Linked DNA regions of Homo sapiens: all the other regions are linked to region 3. Evidence: promoter capture Hi-C in 16 types of primary human blood cells and fetal thymus (Javierre and others, 2016). All regions are on one chromosome and are shown on one strand. Each heading gives the region's core, a stretch centred on a gene start or on the middle of the fragment in contact. The rest is flanking DNA. Distances are from core to core; before and after follow the strand shown. Region 1 holds the start of RPS20 (ribosomal protein S20). Region 2 overlaps BPNT2 (3'(2'), 5'-bisphosphate nucleotidase 2). Region 3 holds the start of RAB2A (RAB2A, member RAS oncogene family).

Region 1 (3,793 bases), core at 583-3,082, 4.4 Mb before region 3:
CACTTAATCCTTTTTTAAGGACGTTAAACTTGGTTAATTTAAAAATATTAGTTACTAGCTTTTTAACACGTGCCTACTAGCGCACTAGGTTCTCAACCATGGGTGTGCATTACAAACGCCCCAGAAACCTTAACACCCCATACCAATCAGAATTTATCTAGAGTATGCCAAAGTTATAAACTGCCAGTGTCCAATAAAACCAGTCAGGTCTCACATATTATGTAGTTAACGGAATCCAGTTTTCAAATGACTCAAACGACAACGAAAACAGGATAGACCACTCTAAGATACCCATATATTCCACCTGAAAAGTGGAAGTCTCATAGTACACCTTTATATTCCTAAAATCTGCCAGTATTCTGAATAAAAACCAACAGAAGTTAACAACTGGTCATCAATTTATTAAAATAGTTGACTTAAGCATCTGCAATGGTGACTTCCACCTCAACTCCTGGCTCAATACTGATGGAAGTAATCTGCTTAACAATCTCAGAAGGACTGTGCAAGTCAATGAGTCGCTTGTGAATTCTCATCTGGAAACGATCCCACGTCTTAGAACCTTCACCACAAGGAGTTTTTCTTGTAGTGATTCTCAAAGTCTGTAACAAAAGACAAAGGAAACCAAGTGTTTATCGTTTTATACTTATCCCTAGAACATCTGGAAAATCATTACTTCTAATCATTTCATTAGTTTCCCTTTGGTATGATTCCAATTTACACTAATAGATTTTCAGGTACCATGGGTTGAAAATGCCAGGTCTGTTTTCACTGTGCTAGGACACCACCCTTAGAGCTTGCGCCTGTTAAGCACCAAAGCACACCAAGAACACAGCAACAATAATTCAACAATCATATCTAAACATTAGCTACTTACTAGGAACCGCAATCTACCACCGATTTCTATGTGCGTTTGTAGACAGCATCAGTGTTAACAATTTTGGCAGCCGAACTCCTTAAAGAACCTGAATTTATGCAACATCCGGAAGCAACTCCTACTTCCTGCCCCTCCGATTTACTTTACCTTGGTAGGCATTCGAACTGGTCCTTTCACTTTGAGATTCTTTTCTTTTGCGCCTCTTATCAAGTCAGCACACACTACAGGAAATAAAAGACCTCTCAGTATAATCGAAACAATTAAAATCGGCTTAAGGCCTTCACTTCTGCTGGCTCAGAATAGCGTATAAAATTATCACCGTTACTCAACACAATAGGTACCTCCTCATCGCCAGCTGTATGACAGTAAAAGCAATTTTAAGCCACGCTTTACTTTTTTAAGTAACTTGTCACTTTAGTTCTTGCAGTCCACCTTCTACACTAACATTAACGAGTAAAGCTCGTCGCTTTTCGCCCAATTCCCCCTCCCCCCCGCATAACGAATGCACTGACCCTTTTCCAAGGATTTTACGTTGCGGCTTGTTAGGGTGATTCGAATTCGGTGAATTGCCACCTCCGGCTCCACGGGTGTTTTTCCGGTATCCTTAAAAGCCTATTATTAGATACATGAAAAAGAACAATAAGCCAAAAATGGTCTGCCACTTCTGGAGAAAGGCAGCTTCCGGAAGCTTCCCGCGTTTCCCCACCATTTCAGGAGCGCCTTTCCGCCCCTACACGCCCCGGCATCTGCCCTCAGGAGCACGAACTCGAAACCGGGGTCCCCCCGGCGCCCGAGCCCTGCGTTGCGCCGCCCGCCGCCGACTGCCGCCTCACCATGGCTGTTGCGCGCGGGCTTCCTGACCGACTTGTTCCTCGGCGAGAGCGAACAGCGGTGAGTCAGGAGCAGGAGCGTGCGGACCAAAAATCCTCAGCCCTTACGACCGCGTCTTCCTCAAAAAGAAAGGGGTGGGACTTGAGCAACGCTTATATAGCACGCTTGCATCCGGGTCCCACACGCCCCGGAACAGGAAATATCCCGGGCCCTAGAGGCGGTCGCACAAGGGCGAGCTGGAGCACTAGTGGAGTTGGCGGGAAAGGCACGGCTGCGGGCGCCCCCTGTCCGCACGGAGGAGCCGAAGTCCCGCAGGGTGGGGTCCCCGCCTGCGCCGAGAGGGCCACCTGGTCGAGAGAACAGGCGACACGGAAACCTGAGAAACTCCTCTGTCTGGTGCACCTAACCCTCTTCCTCATAAAGTGCACACGAACTCTGGTTTTTCCGTTGCAAATTTTGCTTTCTACATAGACCATACCATTCGTTGCTCTCTGAGGATGAGGTAACTTCTCTGAGCTTAGCTGACATGAGCATTGGCAGAAATGCTTCTCGTAATCTGGATAACTTACGTTAGAATTAGTAAGCAGTTATTTTTCATAGCCTGAAACGTCCTGTTGTGATATTTCAGCTCCTGGCTTCCCAGTCCAGCAGAAGTATCTACATCTATTTCTGGAAAGGACCTGAACTTGGCTTCTCGTCCTTCTGGAAAGTGAGGCGAAAATGCCAGGCTGCGCAGCTATCCTGAGGCCCGGCCTGGAACCTGGCTAGCCACCCAGTCCTGATACCTCATCTCCTTTCTGTTGGATAAAGTCATTGGATAAGATCCCCCAGGGTCTTCTTAATACTGAACATCTGTTCATAATCACATAAGTGACCAAGTATAGTGGAAAACCCGAATGGTCAACTGAGCTGAGCAGTGGGAGAGAGCGCAGGGTGAGCTCACCTACACCTGAGCAAGAAGCCGGGGCTAAATACGTGGAAATCACTGAGATGGATTTTGATACAGGGCAGAAAGAAGAGTAAAATCATCTCATATTACTTTCCACCTGAAGCTCTGAGCCGAAAGAGTTATTTGCTCAAACACTCTGAAATGGGGAGGGACAGAGCTCTGACCCCTCCGTCCAGGCCTGTTTGTTGTTTTTTTTTTTTGTTTGTTTTGTTTTTTTTTTTTTGTGAGACGGAGTTTCATTCTTGTTGCCCAGGCTGGAGTGCCATGGCGCGATCTCGGCTCACCGCAAACTCCGCCTCCTGGGTTCAAGCGATTCTCCTGCCTCAGCCTCCGGAGTAGCTGGGATTACAGGCATGCGCCACCATGCCCGGCTAATTTTTTTTTTTTTTTTTTTTTTTTTAGTAGAGACGGGGTTTCTCCATGTTGATCATGCTGGTCTCAAACTCCAGATCTCAGGCCCGCCTCGGCCTCCCAAAGTGCTGGGATTACAGGCGTGAGCCACCGCGCTCGCCCCGTCAGGACTCTTTCTTGAGGTTTTGTCTTCTGTTCCTTGGTAGGAAATTATGTTTGAAACTTTAATCAAATAATAGCATTGTCTTATTTGGTGATAATTGGAACATAACTAATAACTGGGTTTCTTTGGCTCACGATACGTATGAGGTTTTTTGCTGCCATTTTAACAATTATTTTAAATTTTCAAATTTGGATGTTTTCCAGTTCAGTTTTTTGGGTTTTTTGTTTGTTTGTTTTTTGAGATGGAGTCTCGCTCTGTCGCCGAGGCTGGATGCAGTGGCACGATTTTGGCTCCCCGCAACCTCCACCTCCTGGGTTCAAGCAATTCTCCTGCCTCAGCCTCCCGAGTAGCTGGGACCACAGGCACGTGGCACCACTCTCAGCTAATTTTTTGTGTTTTTACTAGAGACGGTGTTTCACCGTGTTAGCCAGGATGGTCTCAATCTCCTGAACTCGCGATCTGCCTGCCTTGGCCTCCCAAAGTGCTGGGATTACAGGTGTGAGCCACCTATCCCGGCCCCAGTTCAGTTATTTTTAAATGTAATCCATTGTCTGTAAATACTCTCTTAGTAGAATTTTCAGCAGAAATTCTGAAAACCTGCATTCTTATTGTGCTAGCTGTAACC
Region 2 (3,782 bases), core at 159-2,658, 3.5 Mb before region 3:
CCACTGCACTCCAGCCTGGGCGACAGAGCGAGACACCATCTTTAAAAAAAAAAAAAAAAAAAAATTCTAGCTGGACAATCTTTGGCAAATTATTTAGCCTCTCCAAGTCTTTATCTGAAAAACAGAGGCTGTAGTACTTAACCTCCTTTGTTGTTGTGAAGATAAAATTAATAATGTCATTAAGAAGTTTAATTCAATTTTTGTGGCTTGCAGAAGGCTATGCAAATGTTAGCTAGTAAAACAAGCTCAGCATAACTTCCCCACTGCTTGAGTCCTGGTCCTCATCTCTCCCATGGCCTGTTTTAACAGTCTCTAACTAGTTCCTATCTACCTCCAAATGCCCAAAGCCCAAAGTATGGCTTATTGCAGGCCTCAAGAAAAGTCAGCTAAATCTGGCCTTCTTTTAGTATTCTACTAGTAAACCATGGACTAGGTCCAAATTCCTTTGAGCTTGGAATATGACCTAGCCCCTACCTACCTTTCCAATCTCTTCCACAATAATTCTCCCAAGTGCATTTTACTCAAACTCATTAGATTACAAGAATTAGCTGTCCTACTATCTCTCTTGGGCCTGTTCCTTTGAACTAGATTCTTTTCCTCTGTTTTCAGTGCTTATGTCTACACCAATTACTAGTTATTCTGATTTTACAGAAGAGGAAACTATGGCTCAAAAAAGTTAAATGACTGGCCAGTACCACCTAGGCTGGTGACTGCACAACATGTCAATGCAAGTGCTCTGTGCACTATATTAGTGCTTCTCAAACTTTTCTGGGACATACTTCTGTTGAAAGAGAGAAGCTTAACTTCCATCTTATAGGTCAAGGAAGGCACAGACCCAAGTGGCTGCTACCAGCTTGGAGTACCATGCTTTACCTTCAAATAAGTCATTGTCAAAACTTTGAACAAATCAAGTTGAGGACAGGAGCCCCTCAAACAGACAGTCCCCTGTACATTAAATCAAAACTATAAATCTCAGTTTGTCTGTTCTGTGGCTGCAAACCCACTCCACAAAAGTATCTTCAGCCTTCATTTTCATTGTTACCTGCAAGGATAAAGAGACAGTGCCATACAAATGGCTGGAGTTACTATTACTTTGACACAATGAAGTCAAGCATTGCCAAAGTGTTTAGGAAGAGGAGACTAGCTGCCCAGAGGACTCTCTGGGATCTCTAACCTGAAGAAAACTGAAGACAAAAGGAAATCCAGGGAGCCTAGGTGAAATCTGAGTTTTGTTAGGATAGCACTCACTTCTCTGGAGTATGATTCCTCAACTTGGGCATCAATTGACAAATGGAGCAGATAATTCTTCGTCATAGGGGGCTGTCCTGTGCATTATAGGATGTTTACCCTCTACCTACTAGATGCCAGTAGCATCCCACCCCTGGTTGTGACAATCAAAAATGTCTTCCGACGTTGTCAAATGTCAGTTAGGGGACAAAACTGTCTCCAGTTGAGTGCTCTAGGATAACCCCTGGTATATCCTTTTACTGAGGAGTGAACATTACATACGAAAGCTCAGACTTCAGACTCTACATAGGAAAGTAGTGGGAGAAAACAGATCTTTCTACATTTACATAGGGCACTAGGATAAAAGAAAGAAGTATCTGTTGCTTCTCAATGGTCTTTTTCCACTAGGAAGTAAACTAAGTGGGATATAATTTAAGTTTCTTACCAAGAAATTTGGGGTGAGGCTTCAAAATTAACCAGGGATTTAAGACTGTACTTCTGGGCATTAGGAGAGGGGAAGGCAAAAAAGGAGAAAGACTCCTTTTAGGTTGATTCTCCACTTAGTTGGCTACAATATTTGGCCTCTAGCCTATAACACAGGGGTATAAGGAGATCGCTCAACATGACACCATCCCTACTTTGACACTGTATAAATGATCACAAACCTCTTCTATTCCTTCAGTCATGACCCAACATGAATACTACAGAAGCACATGCAAACATTCAAATAGTCACAAGAAAACAAGAAGTTGTTTTATATTAAGCCAGAGACTTCAACATCTGCAATTCCAAAAGCTTAGCTTTTATGTTAATAAAATGCAGCTCACTGCCCTTGGCAGCCATTCCCTTATTGTTTGCTAATAAATGAGAATGCACACACATACAGATGTGTTTTCAACATTTAAGATACTTTTGTTTTTACTTAAAAAAAGAAAAATCAACTCTGCTTGCTGTATTTCACTATTACTGCTTTTAAGCTTCTACAATTATAAGTTTTAAATAGCCTTCTAAAAATCTAGCTAAAATGTGGGATAGTTCATATAAGCTGGAGTGTCACGAGCCTCAGATTTCCCGTTTGTATAGTAGGCAGAAATAAAATTTACTTCTTAAAGTTGCTGTTAAGGATCAAATGAAGTCCTGTGTAGCCAGTATTTGGGCATGTAAAATATATTCAATAAATGGTTATTATTAGTACTGTTATAACCATTAAATAGCAACTTCTCTGAATCTCCTGTTTCCTCTATAAATTCTTGGGGAAGGAAACACGTATGTTTTGGAAAGGGGGTAAAATATTTCATAAACACACCTTACATCTAGATGCAAAAAAATTTAAGTATTATTTGTGATGATAAAAACAGAGTAGGGAAGAAGAAAAAGTGGAAATATTCTGTGTTTTAAGTAGAAATTTGAAAAAAAAAATTCTAACGTTAATTACATCTGGTATCCAGTAGCTCATGTTAGGAAATACAATGTTCCTTTCCACTGGAAAAAGAAAAAGACGAAAGAAAAGGGAGGAAGAGAGGAGAATAAAAAACAAAACCAAAGCAATATTATGATAGACTGGAAGAAGCCTTATGCAAAATACATAACTAAACAATGACAATATTCTCCTAACTCTTTCAAGATCAGCAGTAAAAGGTCAGTCACCTTCCAAAGAAGCCTGGGTTTGCACATCACTGTTTATCTAATAAAATTCCAGTGAAGACAATTTTTCTTCCCAGTAGCCAAAACTACAGTTAGGTGAGTTAAGATATACGTTAATAAGGTGCTGCTACGCTATGCTGAGCTCTTCCTCAACAAAATTTGCAGTTTCTGGAACTGCAAATTTTAAATATGCTTTATTCAACTCAATAGCAGCTCCAGTGAAATGATGAATTCAAAAAGTATTAATAACAAATCCAAAATGTCTGGATTTCCTTAAGAAAATGTCAACTCCCTTCCCAGAAACCTACCCAAAGAAAAGCCAAATGTTATTTAATTCTTATTCTCTGGAGTAAATATGGATCTTTAATCAAGGGCCAGGTAGGACCAACAGCTGGTATATTTCTAAGTACCTCCTTAAAGGGCCCGCAAACTATAAACTTTAGAGCGTCCTGACAAAAAGACAGCGAAATGAGCATACTCATCCCCCACCCCCCCACCCCGACTCCCGCGAGCGCACACACGCACACACAAATGCCCCGCACACTAACAGCTCTGCAACAAGACTCGGTCTTTCAGCTGGCTACTGGCAGGCCACCCAGAAAATGTGTACTCCAGTTTCGACCCTTCTAGGGATGAAATCAAGGAAGGATAGAGAGTCTTGGTGGATTTTAGCCAACCCCTTAATTCTACAGAGGAGCCTGAAGCTGCGGGTGCAATTAACTTTGTCAGCCTTTTCGTTTCAAGGCCTTCTGATCCCAGGTACACACGGCGCACACCCGACCCAGGACGAGCCAAAAGGGCACGGGCCCTGAGTCAGACTACGTGCAACCTCACCCAGCTCCTCTGCTGTCTGTCTGACCTTGTGCACGTTAACTTCTGCGTCTCAATTTCCACATCTACAAAATGGAACC
Region 3 (3,747 bases), core at 1,238-3,737:
AAGGTCTCAATCTATAGCCCAAGCTGGAGTGCAGTCGCACCATCCTAGCTCACTGCTGCCTCAAACTGCTTGGCTCAAGCTATCCTCCCTCTTCAGCCTCCCAAGTAGCTGGGACCGCAGGCACAAGCCATCGCAACCTGTGCTCTGAAGCTTTAAGAGGCCAAACGATTCCTCACATTCATCCGATCAGTTACAGGTAGAGCCAAGACCAGAAGCCAGGTATCCTATTTTCCTTATAACACATTGCCTCTATAGCTTTATATCCATTTCTATGATTTTTGTTACATACCCAGTTCTGACCATTTCCTGTCACAATTTCCTTTGTCTACTAAGTAAAGTTCTAAATGCATGGTGACATAACATACAAGGCCCTACATAACCTGGCACAAGAGACCTCTCCAGGTACTCTCCTCCTCTAACAGTGTAGGAATACTCCTGACTCCTAGGATGCCAGGCATTTGTATAACATCCTAATAGAGTTGTGCTGGTGAAGGAAGGCCACATCCCTCTATCTTGTGAGAGTGAAGACTTGAGTTTCTCCATCACCAAGGAAGACTTGGGTGAAGGCACTCAAGTGGGAGGGACAAAATGACATCTGAAAACTGGAGGCCTTGGGCAGGGACCTCCCCTTCCTCAAACTAAAGGTGAATGAACCAAATTTTGCGATTCCAGGTAGCTTTTCATGTCAAATTTTCATGTCAAATTCTTCCGTGCCATCTCTGACCCTTTAGTAAAATCCCCTCCAAATATTCCAGAAAAACCTTGTGAGTTCATATTTGGCAAGGCCATCCAAAGCATGTTAGCAACCCAGCATGATGGTGTCAGTACTAATTACATAATGAGAGGCCCCAAAGAGAAGAGTATTAGGCAACAGGAACGAGGGCCACTAAATCCCAATCGCTTTTCCCCAGCAATGATTCTCCTTCAATATGAGGTTATGGGTTATGAGGATATGAGTTAGTCAATTAGCTTCCTTATGCAACTTCAAATTCCCTGAACAGATCCAGGAATTTTGCACATTCTGTTCCTTGTCCATAAACTTTGGTTCCCCTCCCCAAACTGTTGTTCTTTCGACAAACTCTATACATAATTCATATTCCTGGCTCAGAAATCATAATCTCTAAGTAACCTTTCCTGACACCCTATTCTCCACCTCCTCTTCCATAACCTGTGGTCTTTTTGAACAGAGTGGTGACATTTTGGGCTGGATGACTGAAAAAGCAAAGTAGAAAAACAGAACATAGAACATACAGGGCCTCCAGTTGCTGTGCCTGGCGGTACATGAAACATAGTATTCAATAACTATTCTTTGAATGCACAGTCATTTTGTTTTTTCCTTTAACAGTATTTCCTAATAGGTAACTCATGAACACTGCAAAAAATGTCAAACTGCACAAAAAAATTCAGGGAAAAGTACATTTTCCCCCCAATCCCATTCCCTCCTTTCTCTTAATACCAGTTAGCTTTCCTTTCAGATTGATTATGCATATATGGGTATGTAAATGTTTTCCCACTATTTGTTACACATAAAAATTATATACAATTCATATATTACATATGGTGCATGTTATATACACACACATAAACAGATCATCTCGGTTTTGCTTAACCTAAGTCAGGCTTTTTTTTTTTTTTTTTTTTTAGAGCAGCCCTCAGAACCAGGACAGGTTCAGAGACTTTATTTATTTTTTATTTACTATTATTATTTTGAGACGGAGTCCCGCTCTGTCGCCCAGTCTGGAGTGCCGTGGTTCAATCTCGGCTCACTACAACCTCCACCTCCCAGGTTCAAGTGATTCTCCTGCCTTAGACTCCGAGTAGCTGGGATTACAGGCGAGCACCACCACGCCCGGCTAATGTATTTTTAGTAGAGACGCGGTTTCGCCATGTTGGCCAGGCTGGTCTCGAACTCCTGACCTCAGGTGAGAGCAACGTAGTACTCCACTGTGCGTGCATACCATGATTTACTTTGCAGTCCCAGATTTACGGTTTCCAATTTATAAATACTGCCATTTTCACCTTCAAGCCCCGATGCCAAACACAGAAATACCAGGCCACCCCCACCCCCTCGCCGTGTGCCTCCCACATTTTCACACACATTTTCAGGAGCCCAGGGCGCAGCCTCACACCGAACGCCGCCTCTGCCGTCCCCTCACTTGCCCCGTGCCCCCACCGCAGGGCTGAAGGCGACGGAACCGAGCCTTTGTACCCCCACCAGCCCCGTTCCCTGGCGTCTCCCGGCCGCCGGGCTCGCCCGCTCAAACGTGGCGGAACAACCGGAGCCGGGCCCCGCCCTGCTGGAAGACAGGGCGGACCGGGCAAGGCAGGCGCGGGGCGGGGCGGGGCGGGGCTCCGGCTGGCGGGGCGCGGCCAGCGTGCAGGGCTGGGCCAGCGTGCGGGGCTCCTCCCCTTTCCTCCGGCGGCGCCGGCGGCCGCAGAACTTCCGGGTCGGCGCGGAGGCGGGGCGGAGGCGCCGCGGCGGCTGTTATTGTTCGGCTGGGCTCGGTCGGGCGCTGTCTCCCTCGGCTCTGCGGGTGTCAGTTCGTCCGGCTTCCTCACAGCCCCTCACTCCCGGCGGCTGACAGCAGCAGCGGCGGCGGCGGGCGGCGCCTGGCGTTTCGAGGCTGAGCGGCACCGGGGTTGGGGCGCGGAGGAGGAGCAGCAGCGGGAGGAGGAGCCGTGTGCCCTGGCACTGAGCGGCCGCGGCCATGGCGTACGCCTATCTCTTCAAGTACATCATAATCGGCGACACAGGTGAGGGCCCCGGGCGCGGCCGGGCGGGTGTCGGCGGCCTCCGGACCCGGGCTGAGGGGCAAACGGCGTCTGGCGGTGGCGGGGACGCGGACTCCACCCGGCGCCTCCCTCCTGGCCGCGCCGCTCCATTTCCGCAGTGCTGGAGCTGGTGACGTGGGCACTGCGAGCGGCCGCGGCCTGGCCAGGCCCGGTCTGCGGCCCCCGACCCGGCCAGTCTTGCAGCTGAGGGCCGTGGCAGCCGTTTGCGACGCCCGATTCAGGAAGTGTGTGACAGGAGGGGAGGCCTAGCGCAGGGCCGCCGGGGCCCGACTCACATGACTGCACCCCACCCCCAGGGCCCCTTGCGTTAGGTCTCTTCGCGGCCCCAGGAAAAAGAAGGAGGGAAACCTAGGGGAGCAGAAGGTGTTGGGGCCCGGGTCTTGGTTCCTGACCAGTCCAACCTTCCTCCACCAGCACGCATCTATCAAGGCCTGGGCAAGGCGCTTTTTGGCGTGGGACAGGCAGCCGAGAAAGAGAAAAGGAAACCTTTAAAATATGTATTTTATATATATACATATATATAAAATATGCTTTTTTAACACCTTCAACTCTCACGTCAGAATAAGTCACATCTCATTACTTGACGGCTGGAGAATCCCTTTCGGGGTTAGGAAAGCATGAACGAGTTCTGTGGACTTTTGCCACGTGTGAACTGGGGTTATATAGTAATGTAAAGTCGTTCAGTGCTCTGGGTGTGTACTTAGGTATGTGTATGTTGAGGACGCTGATGTTTTAGATATGTCAAGTCCGGTGTCACAACTGCTAATTTTCAGGTGAGCTCATGTCCATGAGCTGAAAGAAATTCAGTTATTCTCACTTAAAATGACGTCCTAGTATATTTCACAGAAAAGTAAACAGACTCTTCGTAGATATTTTTAATACCTGTGATTTGGCATTACTTTGAATCTAATAATAAACATAAAGATTGTTTAGATGTTGCAACTATTAATATAC

What was found. The method cuts DNA at HindIII sites, captures the fragments that hold promoters and counts their contacts. A CHiCAGO score of 5 or more calls a contact.
Region 1: the fragment with the promoter of RPS20 here is called in contact with the fragment with the promoter of RAB2A in region 3 in 4 of 17 cell types (fetal thymus, activated CD4 T cells, naive CD4 T cells and 1 more); the score reaches 12.3 in fetal thymus.
Region 2: a fragment that was not itself captured here is called in contact with the fragment with the promoter of RAB2A in region 3 in 6 of 17 cell types (total CD8 T cells, naive CD8 T cells, activated CD4 T cells and 3 more); the score reaches 11.6 in total CD8 T cells.

What each region holds. Positions count from the first base shown.
Region 1 is chr8:56,072,674-56,076,466 of GRCh38, forward strand. RPS20 (ribosomal protein S20) reads right to left here and starts at 1,833. Exons shown (of 4, transcript NM_001023.4): 1 at 1,708-1,833; 2 at 1,387-1,486; 3 at 1,022-1,095; 4 at 381-599. The coding sequence starts at 1,710. The coding sequence ends at 417. It overlaps SNORD54 (small nucleolar RNA, C/D box 54), which reads right to left and starts at 1,228; the gene lies at 1,166-1,228. CERNA3 (competing endogenous lncRNA 3 for miR-645) reads left to right here and starts at 1,919. Exons shown (of 2, transcript NR_149110.1): 1 at 1,919-2,207; 2 at 2,334-2,601. The HindIII fragment of the contact is 15,741 bases long and covers 1,561-3,793 here.
Region 2 is chr8:56,989,330-56,993,111 of GRCh38, forward strand. The region is part of intron 1 of BPNT2 (3'(2'), 5'-bisphosphate nucleotidase 2); the gene reads right to left. Among named protein-coding and RNA genes, the nearest start is that of BPNT2, 2.6 kb to the right of the region's middle. The HindIII fragment of the contact is 1,224 bases long and covers 797-2,020 here.
Region 3 is chr8:60,514,500-60,518,246 of GRCh38, forward strand. It overlaps RAB2A (RAB2A, member RAS oncogene family), which reads left to right and starts at 2,488. Exons shown (of 8, transcript NM_002865.3): 1 at 2,488-2,754. The coding sequence starts at 2,709. It overlaps LOC124901949 (a long non-coding RNA gene), which reads left to right. Exons shown (of 3, transcript XR_007060922.1): 3 at 1-2,299. RefSeq lists enhancers at 1,636-2,496, 3,732-3,747 and a silencer at 2,072-2,941. The HindIII fragment of the contact is 4,226 bases long and covers 149-3,747 here.